Linked DNA regions of Homo sapiens: all the other regions are linked to region 1. The links are contacts of gene promoters, found by promoter capture Hi-C in blood cells and fetal thymus (Javierre and others, 2016). All regions are on one chromosome and are shown on one strand. Each heading gives the region's core, a stretch centred on a gene start or on the middle of the fragment in contact. The rest is flanking DNA. Distances are from core to core; before and after follow the strand shown.

What was found. Contacts are between HindIII fragments. The CHiCAGO score rates a contact against its expected background, and 5 or more counts as called.
Region 2: a fragment that was not itself captured here is called in contact with the fragment with the promoter of MRPL28 in region 1 in 7 of 17 cell types (naive CD8 T cells, total B cells, total CD8 T cells and 4 more); the score reaches 7.2 in naive CD8 T cells.
Region 3: a contact is called between a fragment that was not itself captured here and the fragment with the promoter of MRPL28 in region 1, in 1 of 17 cell types (M2 macrophages). The highest score is 5.0, in M2 macrophages.

What each region holds. Positions count from the first base shown.
Region 1 is chr16:368,963-371,787 of GRCh38, forward strand. MRPL28 (mitochondrial ribosomal protein L28) reads right to left here and starts at 1,576. Exons shown (of 6, transcript NM_006428.5): 1 at 1,537-1,576; 2 at 969-1,263; 3 at 106-258. The coding sequence starts at 1,256. PGAP6 (post-GPI attachment to proteins 6) reads right to left here. Exons shown (of 13, transcript NM_021259.3): 13 at 1,826-2,825. The HindIII fragment of the contact is 7,915 bases long and covers 1-1,961 here.
Region 2 is chr16:140,809-144,695 of GRCh38, forward strand. No RefSeq gene overlaps it. Among named protein-coding and RNA genes, the nearest start is that of NPRL3, 4.1 kb to the left of the region's middle. RefSeq lists a cis regulatory region at 2,147-2,665. The HindIII fragment of the contact is 3,114 bases long and covers 414-3,527 here.
Region 3 is chr16:198,650-202,536 of GRCh38, forward strand. LUC7L (LUC7 like) reads right to left here. Exons shown (of 10, transcript NM_201412.3): 6 at 413-589. Among named protein-coding and RNA genes, the nearest start is that of HBQ1, 20 kb to the left of the region's middle. The HindIII fragment of the contact is 3,111 bases long and covers 426-3,536 here.

The sequences.
Region 1 (2,825 bases), core at 326-2,825:
GTGCAGATGTCAGCGTGCCCCGGTGTGATGCTGACCTGGGGCTCCCGTGAGTCTGACTGGCCCATCCCAGACCCTGTGTGCACTGACTCGCCCCACCCCGCTTGCCTTGAGGATGTAAAAGTCGAGCCCATAAGCCTCATCGATGAGGTCCAGGGTCCGCATGGTCACAGTCACTGTGAACTTCTTGTCCAGGATCTCACTGTAGAACTCTCGCTCAAACAGCTGTGGCTTCCACACTTTCTTCAGCCTCTTGGAGAGCTGAGGGTGCAACAGAGCCTCCATGAGTACTGCTGCTTTCTCTTACATACCAAGGGGGGCCCAGGCAACTGCCCTCACCTCCCCCCCGGAGGCTCCATCACAGAACCACTGCTGTCAGACTGGGGACCTAGAGCTAACTGGGCCGGCCCCCAGCCCAGTGCCGCCCCAGCCCGACCCGGGTCCTGACTGTGTACCCAGAAGTCAGCTGCTCCCCAACAAGCTGGGCGTTCCCGCCCTGGTCACATGGTTGCTGCATGTGTTTCAGAAACATGTGCGACCCCACAGTTTACAGGTTGTCACATTCCAACCTGGAGGTGACACAAGTCTCCCCACAGGCTTCAGCAGTCCCGCCAGGAAGTCCACCACAAGCAGCCTCGAAGCTCTGCTCGCCTCCCCCACCTGCTCTGCTCGCCTCTCCCACCTGCTCTGCTCATCACACAGGCCTCCTCCCCATCCTAACTTTACCCCGACTCCCCACGGCCTCTGGTTGCTCCCCCGGCCTGAGTCACCCCACCTCACCCCTACTTTATCAGTCCTGTTTGCCAGAACTGCGGTTCTTCACTCAGCGTGCTCCTTTGCCGGAGATGTGTCGCCTCCAGGCTGTAATCCCCAGGGCCCACCCAGGTCTCTCCAGGTACCCCGGGCGTCCGGCACAGAGCCGGCACAGCCAAGCCCTGAGAGGAGCCCCTGAAGGCCGCCTGCGGACCCACCTTGTCGTTGTTGGCATATATTTGGCCCAGGATCCAGCCCTCGCCGCCCCACAACCCCCGCTGGGATTCGGGGGGAAAGTAGATGGGAATGGGCACGTCCTCCACACGCTCCCGCTGCCCGTTCTTGGGGTTGATCTTGAACTTGGCCCCATGAGGCCTATAGTGCACGGGAGTGGGCGTCCGCTCCTCCTCCAGGGAGCGCAGGTAGTGGCCGGGCAGGCGGGAACAGATGCCCTCCCGCAGCTGCAGCCGCTTCCAGAGCCACACGGGATACTTGTGTAGAGGCATCGCGAGCCTGGCGGGAGGTGGGGGCTCGCAGTCAGTCGCAGCCTGGCCAGGCCCCCGGCACTCACCCCCTACCCCGGCCCCCGACTCTCACCCGCTACCCCGGCCCCCGGCTCTCACCCGCTACCCCGGCCCCCGGCTCTCACCCGCTACCCCGGCCCCCGGCTCTCACCCGCTACCCCCTACCCCGGCCCCCGGTTCTCACTCCGGCCCCTGTCCCGCACCCACCTGCCCCTCCCCTTCTGCCCCGGCGCCCCCCCACACCCCACCTGCCCGCGCCCACCTTTCAGGGTTCAGAGCCCACCGGAACCGGAAGCCGATCTGCCGCGCCTGGCCCTCCTCCCACCGCTGACTGGCTGTAAAAGCCATCCGTCTACCCCCTCGTCCCGCCCCGCTTCCGTCTTTAGGGACCGTAAAAAACACCCCACATACAGCAGCAGCAGCTCAAGGCACCGTTAGCTACGTGCGGCCCCGGCGTTTCCGCGAAGGGCGGCACGGGCGGGGCGGTGCTTGTTCTCCCGGGCCCCACTTACCCTACCCGGGAAGGAGCACAGAAAAAATGTAAAAACTCGTTTAGTTTGAAAAATCAATGTAGAATATTAAATTCACCAAACACAGATAGATCAGATCTACATAAAAATATGTCTTAATATCTTAGAATTTTCCTTTACTCCAAAAAACCCCATATATATATGTTTCTCCTTTATAAGCTTAGAGATTGCTTTGGTGGTCAAGTGCAGGGCGGCTGGGGGAGGTAAGACCTTCAGGAAGGCCATATCCCGGACAAGACCCAGAAGGGAAGCCCCCAGAGCCAAGGGTAGGAGGGCCCCACCCGGGTCTCAGCCACTCACTTCTCCAGGGCGGATCCGAGACACTCACAGGCCTCAGGGAGGGGCCAGGTGCTGCTCCTGGTCATTGCTTCCCCCACAAGGTTTGCATGAGGAGCAGAGACAGTCCAGTCTCCTGAACACCCACAGGGCACAGAGCCCAGTGCAGGGGGCAGACACCACCGCAGCTCCTGGGACCAAGAGGAAGCTCCCAGAGGGGGGCCCAGGAACGCTGGGGTGGGTGGACAGGGCTGGGTAGGGGTTCCTTCTGGGCCAAACCCCCAGAGCAGCAGAGCACCCCAGTCCAAGGAAGCTCTTCTCAGGGACCCAAGGCTCCAGAGCCAGGAAAAAGGGAGGGGCGGGGCGGGAGCCTGCATCCCCAGTGCCCATCAGCTCTGGGGGAAACCTCCGTCTCCCGTCCCTATGGTGACCACAGCAGCAGAGGGGGATCCTCCATGCCCCAGGCAGGCTGGCATCAGGGCCACACAGGGGCCAGGAGCAGGGGTCTCGGAGTCCACAGCTCCCGGCCCCAGTGGTGGGCTCAGGGCTCCTGGGCGCCATGGGTCTCACCACAGCCTCGCCAGGGAACAGGACCATAGGGAGTCCTTCTCCCCATCTCTAGCCACCCACAGGCCAGCAGAGCACACAGCCCCACCCTCGCACAGGCACCTGTGGTCTCCAAGTAACCAAGCCCAGGCCCCAGGGGCCACTGCAGACAGCAGCTGGGATCTGCAGAGGGATCTCA
Region 2 (3,887 bases), core at 721-3,220, 230 kb before region 1:
TTTGAAGGGGAGTGATGAAAATGTTCTAACGTTGACTGTGGTAATGGTTGGACAGCTCTGAGAACGCGAATACACTAAAAGACATGGAAGTGCCGGGCGCAGTGGCTCATGCCTGTAATCCCAGCGCTTTGGGAGGCCAAGGCAGGCGGATCGCGAGGTCAGGAGATCGAGACCATCCTGGCTAAGACAGTGAAACCCCGTGTCTACTAAAAATACAAAAAATTAGCTGGACATGGTGCGGGCGCCTGTAGTCCCAGATACTCAGGAGGCTGAGGCAGGAGAATGGTGTGAACCCGGGAGGCGGAGCTTGCAGTGAGCCAAGATCGCACCATTGCACTCCAGCCTGGGCGACAGAGCGAGACTCCATCTCAAAAACAAAAAAAAGATATGGAAGTGTACACTTGAAGTGGATAAGCTTTATGGTATGCAAATTGGTATGGTATGGTAAATTATATCTCAATGAAGTTGTTTTTTAAAAAATCACCCCACCTACCCTATCCCAGGCTTCCCCAGGAGGTAACTAAAGGTAATGAGCTTCTTTGGCTGCTTCCAGAACTTTCCCAAGCACATCAAATGCATCAGAACCTAACCACTTGACTGAGGGATGAGCATTTTCACTGTTGCAAGTAACCCTCTTGCACCAACACTGACACTAATGTGTATTTTGCAGAACAAATTTGTGGATTGGCCTCACCAGGGTGAAGGGTACGTGCATTTGAAATGGCTCAACAGTACCAACAGGTGCGTTTTCTTGCACAGGGCTGCATAACATTTTTTTTTTTTTTTTGAGACAGAGTCTCGCTCTATCACCCAGGCTGGAGGGCAGTGGCACAATCTCAGTTCACTGCAAGCTCCACCTACCAGGTTCACATCATTCTCCTGCCTCAGCCTCCCAAGTAGCTGGGACTACAGGTGCCCGCCACCACACCAGGCTAATTTTTTTTTTTTTTTTGAGATGGAGTCTTGCTCTGTCGCCCAGGCTGGAGTGCAGTGGCACGATCTCAGCTCACTGCAAGCTCCACCTCCCAGGTTCACACCATTCTCCTGCCTCAGCCTCCCCAGTAGCTGAGACTACAGGCGCCCGCCACCACGTCCGGCTAATTTTTTTGTATTTTTAGTAGAGACGGGGTTTCACCGCGTTAGCCAGGATGGTCTCGATCTCCTGACCTCTTGATCCACCCGCCTCGGCCTCTCAAAGTGCTGGGATTACAGGCGTGAGCCACCGTGCCCGGCCTGCATAACATTTTTTTTTTTCCTGAAATTCCCAGAAAGGAAAATGGTGTCTTGTTCTATGTTGCATTTCTTTGATTGAGAGGGAGAGCTGCATCACTTAATTATTTGCAGAGAATTGCTTTTCTTGTTTTCTTTACAGGTGGTCTGTTCTTGGATGGTCTGGCTGTGTTCTTTCTGAGGAATACATAACCTCTGCTACACATTTTGCAAGGCTTTATCCCCGTTGTCCATGTTTTGATTTTATGTATAATCAAAAGGTTTGTGAGTTCTCCCGCACTTCCCAGGAGTGCCTCTGGGATGGAAATGAGACTGCAGGAGCAGGGCTTGAGGCTGGAGGGGTGAGATGGGACAGATGGGGGTGGGGGAACCCAGGGCAGTGGCCGGTGGTGGTAATGGAGGCCTCCTCACAGGGACCCTCACAGCGACCATGCGAATGGAGCAGGACTGTGACTCAGGTCTCGCTCTTCTGACCTAATCGTGCTGCTGCCCCAATGGGCAGAACCTTGGGGCTCCAGACTGGACATCTCTGGGCTCAAAGGATCCCACTGTTCCCCCGGTTACCCTCTCAGGGTTGGCCTCCTGCCAGTAACCCTGGCACTCATTGTTCATTCTTCTGACTATCGTCAGTCATAATGAGAGCTCGAACTGGTGAAAGTGCAGGGAGCTCACCATGACCCCAGCCCACAGAGGTCCTGGGTGCGTCCCTGCCCTCGAAGCAGCACTCTGGATCCCAGCGCCACCCTCATGTCCATGTTTGCACCTCATTGGCTGTGACAGAAATGAGACATCATTGTCACACGCTGGCCTGAGGGTCAGTGGGCCTTGCTTTGGACCTCAGTTTCCCCACCAGTAACAGGGTTCAGAGCAGATGGTCCCTGAGTGAGTCCCAGCTCTAAGTTCTCCCAGGGTCTCCTGGACAATGAAGCACCAGGGCCAACCTCCATTTGCTACAGGGGACATCCTCAGGCTCTTCTCTGCTAAGACCCCACACCTCCAAGTCTCCTCATTTTACCTTTAAATAGCTGTTTCATGACCTGCTTTTTTGACGGTAAGTAGATTTTTGGAAACTGAAACCCCTGACCCTTCCTCCCAGCCTGGGCCTGCCCTTGGCAGGATAGGAGGCCTTATCGGTCCTGCCACTTGGTCTGGGCCTCAAAGGGCCACCGCCATCTGCAGGAGGGCCGGGTGGGGTTCACAGACGCTATCTGGGACTTGCCTGGACACCTCCACCTTCTCAGCTGAGTGTTGCTGCCCCACCAGGGAGAACCACTCACACACAGTAGTAATAGAAATAATTTAAAATTCATGCTGCAAGTTCCTGAGCGCCCTCCCAACACTGAGGTGGGGGCTAGTCTAATCCCCATCCTAGAGGTGAAAACAGTGAAACTAGGACTCACAAGGCAAATTAGCCTGTTCAGGGTCACCGAGGGTCCACTCTCATGGGAGAGTTTGCAGATGCCCAATCCGGCATTCTGCTGAGTGTCCAGTGGCTTGTAAGTGGCCAGACACCCTTTGAGCTCAGCCTCAGCTGCTCAGGCACAGAACGTGCCTGGAGCTTGGAATTCAGGCCAGAAACCACCAGTGGACACCAGCATTCCACACTCACTGCACAGGCTGGGGCTCAAACCAAGGCCCAGGGACAGGAAGGGACAAGCCCCAGCCCCAGCCGGACTCCCAGCCCACACAAACCATCAGGGCTTGTTTCCTGCTCCATGGAAGCCTCAGACATGTTTCATAACCTCCTGGAGCCTCCGTTTCCTTATCTTTCCAATGTAATGATGCCCATGTGCAGTGGCTCACGCCTGTAATCCCAAGCACTTTAGGAGGCCGAGGTGGGTGGATCACTGGAGCTCAGGAGTTTGAGGCCAGCCTGGGCAACATGGCAAAACGCCATCTCTACTAAAAACACAAATATTACCCAGGCATAGTGGCACATGCCTATAGTCCCAGCTACTCAGGAGGCTGAGGTGGGAGGATCACCTGAGCTTGGGAAGTTGAGCCTGCAGTGAGCCAAGATTGTCACACTGCACTCTAGCCTGGAGGACAGAGTAAGAAGACCCTGTAACAAAACAAAACATAACAAAACAAACAAACAAAAAACCCAACTAATGACAATAAAATAAACCCTCCCTCACAGGGTGGTTGTGAGGATAAAGCACCCAGAATGAAGAGTGTTGCTGCCATGTGCAGAACTTAGAAAGTGCTCAACAGATGCCAGCCAAACAGACATGGACTCCCCTCAACACAGTCAACCCAAGGTTGACTGTCACCAAACGCAAAAGACCACACTGTAAAGCTTTTAGAAATGTGGTCTAGTGGCCGGGCACTGTGGCTCATGCCTGTAATCTCAGCACTTTGGAAGGCTGAGGCGGGCGGATCACAGGGTCAGGAGTTCGAGACCAGCCTGACCACCTGACCAACGTGGTAAAACCCCGTCTCTACTAAAGATTCAAAAAATTAGCCGGGTGTAGTGCTACGTGCCTGTAATCCCAGCTGCTCGGGAGGCTGAGGCAGGAGAATCGCTTGAACCCAGGAGGCGGAGGTACAGTGAGCTGAGATCGCGCCATTGCACTCCAGCCTGGGAGACAGAGAGAGACTCCGTCTCAAAAAAAAAAAAAAAAAAAAAGTTAGCCGGGTGGTAGTGGCATGTACCT
Region 3 (3,887 bases), core at 731-3,230, 170 kb before region 1:
ACTATAAAACTCAAGTTCTTAGAGATCAGAACATAATGTTTTTTGTTTTTTTTTTGAGATGGAGTCTTACTCTATAGCCCAGGCTGGAATGCAATGGCATGATCTCGGCTCACTGCAACCTCTGCCTCCTGGGTTTAAGCAATTCTTCTGCCCCAGCCTCCCGAGTACCTAAGATTACAGGCTCACACCAACACACCTGGCTAATTTTTCGGTAGAGACGGGGTTTCACCATGTTGGTCAGGCTGGTCTCGAACTCCTGACCTCAGGTGATTCGCCCACCTCGGCCTCCCAAAGTGCTGGGATTATAGGCATCAGCCACCACGCCCGGCCAAAACATAAGGTTTTTAAAAATTAAAGAAATGTGAAAACACCCCAAGACTCCTCAGCTTTCTCCAGAAACAGATGAACATACCCTCAACTGATCAAGCTTCTCTCGGATCTGAATGAACCCCAAGTGTAACTTGCCACCGAAGTGGTCTGCCAGGCGACGGTCATTGTCATGGAGACCAAGGTAGGCTGAACAGACCTCGCAGACACGCAGCTTTTGCTGCTGAAAACTGGATGCAGGCATGGAATTTCTGTATTCTTCCTGAAGAAGGAAAATGGAGAAATAAAAGTGAGGTATATAGAACTGCCACCACAAATTCAATCTCCAAAATGAAAATATTTGATAAGATGACAGAGGTGACTTTTAAACAAATATTAAAAAAACACAAACAAAACTTCAGATATTTATAACCAACTCAATTTTCACTGTTTATTTAAGAAACGCGGCCAGGCACGGTCCCAGCACTTTGTGAGGCCAGGTGGGCGGACCATGTGGTCAAGAGATCAAGACCAGGCCAGGCGCGGTGGCTCACGCCTGTAATCCCAGCACTTTGGGAGGCTGAGGCTGGCGGATCACCTGAGGTCCGGAGTTCAAGATCAGCCTGACCAACATGGAGAAACCCCATCTCTATTAAAAATACAAAAGTAGCCGGGTGTGGTGGCGCATGCCTGTAATCCCAGCTATTCTGGAGGCTGAGGCAGGAGAATGGCTTGAACTCGGGAGGCGGAGGTTGCTGTTGAGCTGAGATCGCACAGGCAACAAGAGCAAAACCCTGTCTCAAAAAAAAAAAAAAAAAAAAAAAGAGAGATCGAGACCATCCTGGCCAACTTTGTGAAACCCCGTCTCTACTAAAAATACAAAAATCAGCTGGGTGTGGTGGCACATGCCTGTAGTCCCAGCTACTCAGGAGGCTGAGGCAGGAGAATCACTTGAACCTGGGAAGCGGAGGTTGCAGTGAGCCAAAACCGTGCCACTGCATTCCAGCCTGGCAACAGAGCGAGACTCCATCTTAAAAAAAAAAGGTACTAACAGGCTGGGCTCAGTGGCTCACGCCTGTAATCCCAGCATTCCGAGGCCAAGGCAGACAGATCACTTGAGGCCAGGAGTTCAAGACGAGCCTGGCAACATAGCAAAACCCTGTCTCTACTAAAAATACAAAAATTGGCCGGGCGCGGTGGCTCACGCCTGTAATCCCAGCACTTTGGGAGGCTGAGGCAGGCGAATCATGGGGTCAGGAGATCACGACCATCCTGGCTAACACGGTGAAACCCCGTCTCTACTAAAAAAACAGAAAAAATTAGCTGGGCGTGGTGGCGGGCGCCTGTAGTCCCAGCTACTCAGGAGGCTGAGGCAGGAGAATGGCGTGAACCCGGCAGGCGGAGCTTGTAGTGAGCCAAGATCATGCCACTGGGCGAAAGAGCGAGACTCCGTCTCAAAAGAAAAAAAAAAAAAAAAAGCCAGATGGTGGCAGGCATCTGTAATTCCAGCTACTGGAGAGGCTGAGGCACAAATTGTTTAAGCCCAGGAGGTGGAGGTTGCAGTGAGCTGAGATCACACCACTGCATTCCAACCTGGAGGACAGAGGAAAACTCCAAAAAGGAAAAAAAAAAAATTGTATTCCAGGCCTGGTGTAGTGACTCACACCTATAATCTCAGCACTTTAGGAGAGTGAAGCAAGAAGATCACTTGGCCCCAGGAGATTGAGATCACCCTGAGCAACACAGCAAGACTCAGTCTCTAAAAATAAGAAAATAATTAGCCCGCTGTGGTGGCACGTGCCTATAGTCCCACCTACTCAAGAGACTGATTCGAGAGGACTGCTTGAGCCCAGGAGGTTGAAGGGGCAGTGACCTGTGACTGCGCCACTGTACTTCAGCCTGGGTGACCCTGGCTGACAGCAGGACCCTCTAATATTAAAAAAAATAGGCTGGGCACAGTGGCTAACACCTGCAATCCCAGCACTTTGGGAGGCCAAGGCAGGTGGATCACAAGGTCAGGAGTCCGAGAAGGTGAAACCCCGTCTCTATTAAAAATACAAAAAAATTAGCTGGGCACGGTGGCTGGCACCTGTAATCCCAGCTACTCGGGAGGCTGAGTCTGAGAATTACTTGAACCCGGGAGTCAGAGGATGCAGTGAGCCGAGATCGCACCACAGCAATCCAGCCTGGGCGACAGAGCGAGACTCTGTCTGAGAAAAAAAAAAAAAAAAAAGTAGACAAGGAACTAGCAAGAACTTGAATTTCCATTATAGTATGCTACATAACTAAAAAAAAAAAAAAAAAAAAAAAACTTAAGCAAAAACAATATTGTGGTACACAAATATTCATAACATTACTCTGTCCCCTTCTATAGTTTTGAAACCTTAAATGCCACCTTCTAACATCTTTCAAAATAAACTCTGATTATGTTGAGTAAAAAAAGTCAGTCCCAAAAGGTTACCTACTGTATGATTCCATTTACATAACTTTTTTTTTTTTTTTGAGACGGAGTCTCGCTCTGTCGCCCAGCCTGGAATGCAGTGGCACGATCTCAGCTCACTACAAGCTCTGCCTCCCGGGTCCACACCATTCACCTGCCTCAGCCTCCTGAGTAGCTGGGACTACAAGCGCACGCCGCCACGCCCGGCCAATTTTTTGTATTTTTAGTAGAGACGGAGTATCACCATGTTAGCCAGGATGGTCTCGATCTCCTGACCTCGTGATCCACCCGCCTCAGCCTCCCAAAGTGATGGGATTACAGGCGTGAGCCACCGCACCAGGCTTTTTTTTTTTTTTTTTTTTTTTTGAGAGAGAGTCTTGCTCTGTCACCCATATTGGAGTGCAATGGCACGATCTCTGTTCGCTGCAACCTCCGCCTTCTGGGTTCAAGCGATTCTCCTACTTCAGCCTCCCAAGTAGCTGGGATTACAGGTGCCCGCCACCACACCTGGCTAATTTTTATACTTTTAGTAGAAATGGGGTTTCACCAAGTTGGCCAGGCTGGTCTCGAACTCCTGACCTCAGGTGATGCACCTACCTTGGCCTCCCAAAGTGCTGGGATTACAGGCATGAGCAACCGTGCCCGGCCATATTTTTAATTTCTTTGTAAAGATGGGGTATCCCTATGTTGCCCAGGCTGGTCTCAAACTCCTGGACTCAAGCAATCCTCCTGCCTCGACCTTCCAAAGTGTTGAGATTACAGGCATGAGCCACCATACCCACCCTCCATAAGCTTTTACGCTGGGCAGAAGGCAGCAAAAGGGGAGTCAGCATATCACATGGCAAAAGAAGGAGTGAGACAGAGAGAAGGACCTAGGCTCCTTTAAACAATCAGCTCTGAGGTGAACTCACTATCCCAGGGAGGGCACCAAGCCATTGATGAGTGAACCACCCCCATGACCCAAACACCTCCCACTAGACCCCACCTCCAACATTGGAGGTCACATTTCAACATGAGATTTGGACGTGCCACACATCCAAACCGTATCAAGTGTTATTTTTTATCTTTTATACTGTATTTTTACTGTACCTTTTCTATGTTTACGTACACAAATATTTAGGGGCCCACTGTGTTGCAACTG